Regions from separate parts of the Homo sapiens genome. Here region 2 is linked to region 1. The links are contacts of gene promoters, found by promoter capture Hi-C in human tissues and cell types (Jung and others, 2019). All regions are on one chromosome and are shown on one strand. Each heading gives the region's core, a stretch centred on a gene start or on the middle of the fragment in contact. The rest is flanking DNA. Distances are from core to core; before and after follow the strand shown.

The links. Contacts are between HindIII fragments. The study calls those that stand out against the background at their distance.
Region 2: a contact is called between a fragment that was not itself captured here and the fragment with the promoter of TIMM8B in region 1, in 1 of the 25 tissues and cell types used here (aorta).

The regions. Positions count from the first base shown.
Region 1 is chr11:112,085,306-112,088,005 of GRCh38, forward strand. TIMM8B (translocase of inner mitochondrial membrane 8 homolog B) reads right to left here and starts at 1,451. Exons shown (of 2, transcript NM_012459.4): 1 at 1,335-1,451; 2 at 1-157. The coding sequence starts at 1,418. SDHD (succinate dehydrogenase complex subunit D) reads left to right here and starts at 1,568. Exons shown (of 4, transcript NM_003002.4): 1 at 1,568-1,654; 2 at 2,552-2,668. The coding sequence starts at 1,603. RefSeq lists enhancers at 1,006-2,205, 1,569-1,838, 2,532-2,700. The HindIII fragment of the contact is 14,912 bases long and covers 1-2,700 here.
Region 2 is chr11:112,145,622-112,152,814 of GRCh38, forward strand. IL18 (interleukin 18) reads right to left here. Exons shown (of 6, transcript NM_001562.4): 4 at 4,451-4,585; 5 at 2,982-3,115. Among named protein-coding and RNA genes, the nearest start is that of IL18, 15 kb to the right of the region's middle. RefSeq lists enhancers at 442-611, 5,338-5,507 and a cis regulatory region at 5,423. The HindIII fragment of the contact is 3,672 bases long and covers 1-3,524 here.

The DNA.
Region 1 (2,700 bases), core at 201-2,700:
CTTTCTGTACAATCTGGGCAAACCGACTGGTGATGGCAAGAGTGGTGTCAATGAAGCGGTCTACACAGCTGGAGAGACAATTTTCAGTGCGAGAGTCTAGGCGATTCCCTGGCTTCTCCACACATTTATCCCAACATAACTCCATGAAGTGATGCACCTAAAAGGAAAGAAAAATAGTAACCATTGGGGTCTGCAGATAGGCCTAACTCTTGTTTATTAACTTCTCACTTTTTGACACCTGACAAAACCATTCTTTAAATCAACCACGGAGTCACTTTGGGCTCTTCTCTTTCTTCATTTCCTAATTAGTCACCAATATTGATCCAGATCCTCGTCCCTACAGATTGTACATTCTCAGGTAGGACTAATAACCTTTTATATTCCCCAAAGTAGCTAGCACCATTGTGAACCAACTAGGGAACCAATTAATTTTCCCAAACTATTGCACTCATTTTATTCCAAACCTATCCCCTAGACAAGGTAATTCTTCCATTAACCTTTTGGGGGTTATGGATCCACTCCCCAGAAAAATGCACATACAGGCACAGAAATTATGTGCACTGTCATTAGAATGTTCAGGGCCCAAAGATTTCTAGCCAGGGTTCTTGCTGGTCATCCGAGCACCCTCTTCCTCCCACCCAAAAGGAAAAAACCATTTTACCAAGAGCTTACTATTTGTGAGGCTGGGTACTAAGAAATCAGTTCTCTCTAAGGTCCTCAAGGATAGCTGTCATCACCTCCCATTTAAGAGGCGTGATTATGTAGTCCAAGGTCATGTAGCCAGCAAGAAGTCAGGCCGCGTTAGAACCATGTCCGAAGGGCTCCAAACCCTTGTTCTACATCCATAGTCTACAGCGACTACTTCAGAGTCCACCTTCCTCCGATAATGTTCTAGTCGTTTTCAAATACATTGTCGCATATGATCCTCACAATCCAGTGAGGCAGTGGGGTGACGGCGACACCAAAACCCACAGTGGATGAGTATCTTTTCTACGGGCACGTGGCCTGCAAGGAGCAGAGGGAGGATGAGAACCCAGATCTTTCGAATGCCAGCCCAGTCATGTCGCCGGCTAACTAGTCTCCCGTACCCTTGCGTCGCCCAAATCTTCCCTGTTTTACACCTTTTCTTTTCTCCACGCTACGCTTATATACCTGGCACCTGAGCACTACCGGTCACCAGGGACAGGAGAGCCATAACTTTGTCTTTCGTGAGGGGAATGGGATGCAGCCGGGATCGAGCACCAGTGAGCCGCCAGTGTACAGACCTCCGAGCGTGCCCAGGACCACCAAGGAAGGTGAAACTTCCTTTCCCTTCACCCTCCCCGTCCCCGCACCTGTGCAGTAAACTGCGCCTTCTGCTGCTCGGCGGCCACCAGGCGCTGCAACTCCGCTTCATCGGCTTCGCCCAGCTCCGCCATTGTTCGCCTCAGGCTCGCCACCTTCCGACAGCTGTGTTTGCGCATGCGCGACGGGTGTGCACCGCCTCTCGACTTCCGGTTCACCCAGCATTTCCTCTTCCCTGTTTTCTTTCGTCGTCGTGGGTGGGAATTGTCGCCTAAGTGGTTCCGGGTTGGTGGATGACCTTGAGCCCTCAGGAACGAGATGGCGGTTCTCTGGAGGCTGAGTGCCGTTTGCGGTGCCCTAGGAGGCCGAGGTGAGGGGTCTTCCCACCCTGAGGTGCTTAGCGTAGCCTCCAGCCAGGGAAGGGGATGGAAGTGAGGACTCATCTGCCGGGTGGGAGATCTCTTGAGGAGAAGAAAATACCGAAATCACAGCAATGACCACTGTAGTCTAGGGGTCCAGATGTTTACCCGAAGGTATATTTCACTTGCTGTGAGCTGACGAGTTGAGGGAATAATCAGAAAGAGAGCTCCCTCTGGAAGTCGCAGTCCTGATGAGGCTAATCCACATAGCAGTTCTGTTTTCTCCCCGTTCACTGTCCCTAGAATGCTCCCCACTCGCTCCCACCCTGAGTCGGGAAAGAGGGTTAGGAGCTTGCCCATTTCTTCTGGAGTTGGTGTGTTTGGATGTGGGAGTGGAGGGGGGATCAGTTCGAAAATCATTTAACCTGGGCATTTGTGTTACCTCAGGTACTGTAGTAATGCTAGGATACAAATGTGAAGAAAACGTAGTTCCCGCCCTCAACGAGCTTTCATTCTGATGAGGAAAACACTGTCATAGTAGTCCGGGCAAGATGAGGTCCTGAACTAGGAAAGTAGCACAAAGAAAAGAAGATTGTCTCAAGAACTGTTAAAGAGATACGCCAATAGGATTTGGCGATTGAATTTAGGGGAAAAGTCTCTCATGATTTCCAGATTACTGAGTTAGGTTAAAGAATGCCTGAGGTGTCATTAAATAAAGTAGGGAACATGCAGATGTTCCCTGGTCTTAACTTCACAGTAACCCCAGTGAAATAGATGCTATCTTCATTTTACAAATAAGATGTTATCCCCTATTTATTGTTAAGTAGCTTACCTATGGTCATTTAGAAAGTTTGTCAGTCCTGTTAAAGGAGAGGTTCTTATGATCATCCTAATGACTCTTTCCTCAGCTCTGTTGCTTCGAACTCCAGTGGTCAGACCTGCTCATATCTCAGCATTTCTTCAGGACCGACCTATCCCAGAATGGTGTGGAGTGCAGCACATACACTTGTCACCGAGCCACCATTGTATGTTCTCTCCATCGCTGCTGCTTTCTGGG
Region 2 (7,193 bases), core at 439-2,938, 61 kb after region 1:
CCAGCTGCTTGGGAGGGTGAGGCAGGAGAATGGCGTGAACCCGGGAGGCAGAGCTTGCAGTGAGCTGAGATCGTGCCACTGCACTCTAGCCTGGGCGACAGAGCGAGACTCCGTTTCAAAAAAAAAGAAAAAAAGAAAAAAAGAAAAAAAGAAAGTTACAGTTGAAAGCGAGAGTGTGGATAGGTAGAACAGGCAATCTCTTTAATCACACTTATTGCACATTTCAGAATAGAGGTAAGGACATCCTTGGGCAGTAGCTTTCCTAGTTTTGATGTTGACCACTCCCAGCCATCATAGGGAAGGTACATAGCAAATGGATGTGAAAGCAATCCCAATGACCTTGGAGAACCCCCAACTTGGAAAGCCCTACCTGGTGAAACTTGAGTGCTCCAAGGGGAAAGGGATTTCTTTCTTTTTTTTTTTTTTTTTTTTACATCAGAAGGGGTTGAATCTGAATCCAGGGAAAGTTGATATTGACCTAACATCTCCCAAGTGCACTGGAAAGTCTGAGGGAACCCTGGCCAAGCCTGGATATAGATACATATATACATGTATATGTATATATATGAAACAGACACTGACAGTAACCTCTCAAAGCAAATCCCTCTTAGTGTTGTCAAGGTTCTTGACCAAAGAACTTTATAGGACTTTATAGCTAGTAATCAACAGTGAAAGGTGAGCACATAAGGGTAGCCTGTTGTATCTTTTTCTTTTTTTGAGACAAAGTCTCATTCTGTCGCCCAGGCTGGAGTGCAGTGGTGCGATCTCAGCTCACTGCAGCCTACACCTCCTGGTTTCAAGCGATTCTTCTGCCTCAGGCTCACGAGTAGCTGGGATTACAGGTGCATGCCACCATGCCTGGCTAATTTTTGTATTTTTTTTAGTAGAGACAGAGTATCGCCATGCTGGCCAGGCTGGTCTTGAACTCCTGATCTCAAGTGAGACACTCGCCTTGCCCTCCCAAAGTGCTGGGATTATAGGCATGAGCCACTGTGCCTGGCCTGTTGTATCTTATTATCTAGAACCTAGGCCACTTTTATAACCACTGCTAAGATCCTTATTAGTGGCAGGAAAAGGGATTAAAGACAAGGGCTAAAACTGGTCCTAGTCCACCCCTCACTCTCTCCCCCCCTCCAACTAATATTTATTGAGTTCCTTCCAGAAGCAGATTTGCTATGATGCTGATGAAGCTTAAATGTCAGATTCCCTCATTTGCACAGATCTCTTCCAGCCACCCCCCGCCCTTTTTAAAATTTGAATTAAAATTTGAATTAAATTATTAAGCTTATGCCTTTGGTAATTTTACTTTTTTTTTTTTTTTTTTTTGAGACCGAGTTTTGCTCTTGTTGCCCAGGCTGGAGTGCAATGGCACGATCTAGGCTCATCGCAACCTCTGCCTCCCGGGTTCAAAAGATTCTCCTGCCTCAGCCTCCCGAGTAGCTGGGATTACAGGCATATGCCACCACGCCCAGCTAATTTTGTATTTTTAGTAGAGATGGGGTTTCTCCATGTTGGTCAGGCTGGTCTTGAACTCCTGACTTCAGGTGATCCGCCCCCCTCGGCCTCCCAAAGTGCTGGGATTACAGGTGTGAGCCACCACGCCCAGCCACATTCTTTTTCTTTAAAAGGGCCATCAAAATTGAATAAACTTCAGGCTCCCCCAAATATGGATTTGCCCAGTTCCTACTAAGTGCCAAGCATTATTTCCATCTTCTTAACATTTTCACCAGTCTCCCTCAACAAGAATCCACCTGTAGGTTCGGACTTATCCCAGTTTCTGAATCTGCCTCTGCAGCTGAGTTTTCCTCTATCCCACATAGCTTGAGCTTGGCCATCTCCTTCCCTTCTAATTATGTTGTTCAGTAACAGCATGCTTAACCCTTTCCACCCTACCCTTCCATCCCAGGCCTCTTATGCTATTTTGATAACTAAGCTGCCTGTCAGGTCTAGAATGGGGACTCCAAATTGTCACCTGAAGGGGTGGCACTCTGGTTGGAGGGAGATAGCTGAGGGATTTGTCTGGGGGCTGTATCTGTTGCATATGCACTGTTCTTACTTGGATTATATTTTAGAGTGGCTTTTTTCTCCCTACCAAGTTGCCCCTTGGTACCTTCACTAAGGTCATATCCTAACTGTCTTTCAGTGGGGACTGGGTGGGCATGAAAGCGGTTATTTATTGGCAAATCTCCACTCAAAAAGAGTCTTCATGACATGGAATTCTCCTCTGAAGCATTGCCAATTTGTAAGCATCCCTGGCTACTCTTACTGGCTCAGTCTGTAGCTATAGTTAATTGTGGTTTATCTAACAATAATGGAGGAAATAGAGAAAAATAATAGAGAATAATAATGGAGAATAATAGAGAAAAAGTAGAGGCCAGAAATACTTTATACCTGGCTTGAAGATAATTATAGCATTACTTTTACAGCTGATCTCATAACTTTTATTCAATTAGATTAACATTAAAAATAACATACATCAACTGGAAGCTGAAGCTTGTGTCTAAGACTTAGGCTAAGGATCAGCAACAAAACAACTAGGGATTAAAATATTATCATAATTTACAAAGGTGTAGAAATATAGAAGGATAATTAGCTTCATTCTTCATAGCAGAACTCATTCTGGAAAGTCACATGTTATTCTTAAATGTATAACTCACATATGTATTCTACATTATTATTTGTATAAAGACTGATTGTTCAGGAGATGCAGGTCATAAAACAAGTGTTGTATCTCCTCTTCCCTGTGACAGGCTCAGAAAAACCATCATTATCACAATAGGTAAAGAGTTTGATAATTTTTAGTAAGTATTCATTTTAATGGTTCTCTGCTTCTTGTTATTTCTGTTCTAGACAAAAGGTTGGTCTGAGGATATTTGAGTTTTCTAATTACATTACTTATATTAACATTAGAAATAATGTTATATTTCTAATTATATTAATTATATTAACATGATTGAAAACAAAGTAAGGCTCAGTCTTACCTTAAAGGAAATAATTTTGTTCTCACAGGAGAGAGTTGAAATTTTCTCACACTTCACAGAGATAGTTACAGCCATACCTCTAGGCTGGCTATCTTTATACATACTTATAATAAATATGGTCCGGGGTGCATTATCTGAAATAAATATAATAAATGAGAACTCTAGTTAGAAGAATTCTTGCACAGGAACATTTGCGGAAATTTAACCAAAGGATAGTCCTTAATACACCTGTTCCCACTTTGAGACTTGGCCAGTCTGCAGGAGACTATGTACAGCTGGTCAGACATTTTTAAAAACACAGTTCAGGCCTGGCACAGTGGCTCATGCCTGTAATCCCAGCATTTAAAAGTTAAAAACAACCTTTTATAATCTATATCATTATACTCATAAAAGTTGCAGCATGTGTGTTGTAACACATATTAAACTGTGGGGTTGTTTGTTTGTTTGGGAGGCTGAGGCAGGCAGATCACTTGAGGTTAGGGGTTTGAGACCAGCCTGGCCAACATGGTGAAACCCCAGCTCTACTAAAAATACAAAAATTAGCCGGGTGTAAGTGGTGCATGCCTGTAATCCCACCTACTCGGGAGACTGAGGCATGAGAATCGCTTGAACGTGGGAGGTGGAGGTTGTAGTGAGCCGAGATCACACCACTGCACTGCACTGCACTTCAGCCTGGGTGACAGAGTGAAACTGCATCTCAAACAAACAAACAACCCCACAGTTTAATGTGTATTACAACACACACGCTGCAACTTTTTTGAGTATTTTAAAGATATGAATTCTAAAAGATTGTTTTTAACTTTTAAATGCTAAATAAAATATTTAAAATATATGTTAAGGTAAGTATTCAGTATTTTTAAAGAATGCACATTCACTGCTTCAACTCAGCCTAACTTTGATATTTGGAATTCATATTTTGGAAGGCACAGTAGACTTGATCATTTTCTTTTCTTAAGTTTTTTTTTTTTTTTTTTTTTTTTTAATTTTAGAGACAAGGTCTGTATATCACCCAGGCTGGAGTGCAGTGGCTATTCACAGGTACGATCACAGTGTACTACAGCCTCAAAGTCCTGGCCTCAAGCAATCCTCCTGCTTGAGCCTCCCAAGTAGCTAGGATTACAGATAGATGCCACCACACCTGGTAAACTATCAGCATTTTCAGCTGTAACAAGCAGGGATTAAGCATCCAACTATAGAGGTTTTAAACAGTTAATGCAATCACAATAAAGGGATTGGTGATTCAAAGGCAGGCTCAGAGAGGCATGACCCCTAGCAATGTCTTATTGTATCCAATTTTTTACCCCAACTAAAAAACGTGGATGCCTTATAAAGTTTCCTGTAAGTGAAATTATTGTCACTCCTGTGACTTTTCATCTGAGGATTGGGACTAGCACGGAACAATGTAAGCAGTAAAACAGAATGGGAAGAAGTAGCTAGTCATTTCTATGTTTGCGAATTAAAAAAAATACCTCTACAGTCAGAATCAGTCATATCTTCAAATAGAGGCCGATTTCCTTGGTCAATGAAGAGAACTTGGTCATTCAAATTTCTTATGACTGATAATTTAGATTCAAGCTTGCCAAAGTAATCTGATTCCAGGTTTTCTACAATAAACATTAAATCTCATTTAAAAATACATAGTTTCTTTGTTAATTGACAAATAAGTATGCTATATATTTTAGTTTTCTAAAACTATTAATGACAATCTTCTGTTCCAGAAGTAGCTACAATAAAGTTGCCTATTGTTTTTTAACCTACTCTCAAAGGCACACTCAATTTCTTGTTACCATTCAGAACTACTCTGCCTCTGAAGTGTTAACTTCAAATAGCCTACTTTCTGACCGGTCTCTTACCCTTCTAGTTTTCTTACACTTTTACTCCAACTCTATGTGTTCTTAAATTTCACAACATCTTCCAGTCTCCTGACTCTTGTATTTCCTATCTAACCTCTTCCCGTCTTCCCTTCCTTCCCTGTGCAGCTGGATCTCAGAGTTCATTTTGTCTACCATTTTGCCAGGATATTAAATCCCTAACTTATTTGTCTTTCTGCTACAAAACTCCAAACTTGGCTGCTGAGTGCTGCTGGTGAACAATGGCACAAGCGTTCAAATCGGTGCCATTACAAGCATACCAATTGTCAATACTTCTTTTGTTTTCCAGTTCAGCACTCTCTTCCATAGCTGATAGCCGCAATTTCAAATTTTCTTTGCTCTCTTCAGGACCTCTACACCATCATCTCTGTTTTCATTTTCAGCAAATGATTTCCTGCTACTCCACGTACAAATTTAACTCTGGCAGCACCAGTTATTGCCTCTCTCCCTTTTGTCCCAAGGGGAAATGAGAAAGTGCCATTTCTGGTATCTAGGGCTGATCCCATTTGTGCTCGGCATGTACCCTCTACTGAAGCTTTAATTTGCCAATCATCCTTTCTCTTCTATCAACCCAGCAATTCTACCTCCTGGGTTTTATCCTGAAGAAAAAATCAGACAAATGTGTGAACATTTTTGTACAGGAATGCTTATGGGAACATTGTTAATAACAACAACAAACTGGAAACAAACATTCACCAATTAAGAATTGATTAAATAAAAAGGGCAAAGATATGCCCTTATTGTGAAATATCATGAACTTAATATAACTGCAATTACTCGTTGCCATGGAGAGATGTCCATATATATCACTAACTAGAAAAAGCAGCTTAGGTATAGTACAATCCCTTTTAATAAAAATATAAGCATTTCTGTGTCTGTATATATACATAGAAAGGAGTGTAGAAATATTGTATCAAAATGGTAGCTATCATTATTTCTGGGTGGTTTTTATATTTTTATCTTTCATATTATTATCTTTTTTCATTGCCTCAATTAGTTACAATTAACACATTATTTTCATAATCAAAAAAGCACAAAGCTCTTTATTTTGAGATTTAAAACTGCTCCATCAACCCAATCTCACTTTGCAGCTAGTCTTGTTTCTCTCCTCCTTTTAACAGCCAAGCTTTTAGCAAGAATTATCTGTATCATTTCTTCACTTTCCATTCACTGTTTCACTCATTGCAATCTGCCTCTGCCTCCATTTCACCATCAAGCTGCTTTCACTGAGATCACCAAACTCCTTGTTGCTAAATCTAAAAGCTGTGTTCTGGCCCTTGATTCTCAAGGCTGCAAAATTCAACACAACACCTATCCCCTCAATCTTGAAATGCTCTCCTGGGAGTCGGTGGAATTCTCTTGGTTTTTCTTCTTCCCTTTTGGTTAGTCTGCTCTCTGTTGTTTATTAGCTTCTTTCTACTGCATCCTTTAAATGTAGGTATTCCCCCCAGTTCAGTACTTGGCTTTTCCTCTCTCACTTTACACATTTCCTCTGATTTGTCTTTTTATCTCTATAGATTCAAATGCCATTTCTATGCATAAGCCTTCAATATCTCTATCTCCAGCCCAAATCTTTGTCCTGAACTCAGAACCACATGTAGAAGAGTTTTTGGACATCTCCACTAGGACGTTCCACAGACATCTCAGATCCAAAACGAAATGCGTCATCCATCCTCCTCTTTGTATACACCAAAACCTGCTCTTCCTCCTGTGTTTCCTATTTCACTGAATGGTACAAATTGCCTAAGTGAAAAATGTAGGCATCATCTTTTCTACTTTCTTCTCCTTTCCAAATCCAACCCTAAATCATGTCCTATTGATTCTCTCAAGTGTTTCTAAAATCCATTCACAGCTCCTCATCAGCACTCCCCTATGTCTACCTTAATTCATGACACCATCATTTCTTGTAATAACTAAAATAATAGCCTCTCAACCCTTAATTTTGTCCTCCTCACCCCACACCATCAATTCTTTATACCAAAGCCAGAATGATATTTTAAAAATATATTATTTCTGAATTTTAAAGAGTCATATGGCTACCTGGAATAAAGATTATATTTTCCAGATTTCCTTGCACTTGGTGTGGCCATGTGATTAAATTCTAGTCAATGGAATATGAGGGGGATTGATGTGTTTAACTTCCAATTAGAGTCTTTGAAAGGAATGAGCCTGACTTCTCTTGACCCTTTCTTGATAACTGGGATATGAACCCAGGAAGTATGATGATTTTCAACTATGTGAGTGAGATCAACAACTAGGGGATGATGGGTACAAGACTGAAGAAAGTTGGGGGTCCCAATATCATCAGGTTGCTTCCAGCCATACTACTTCTGAGCTGCCT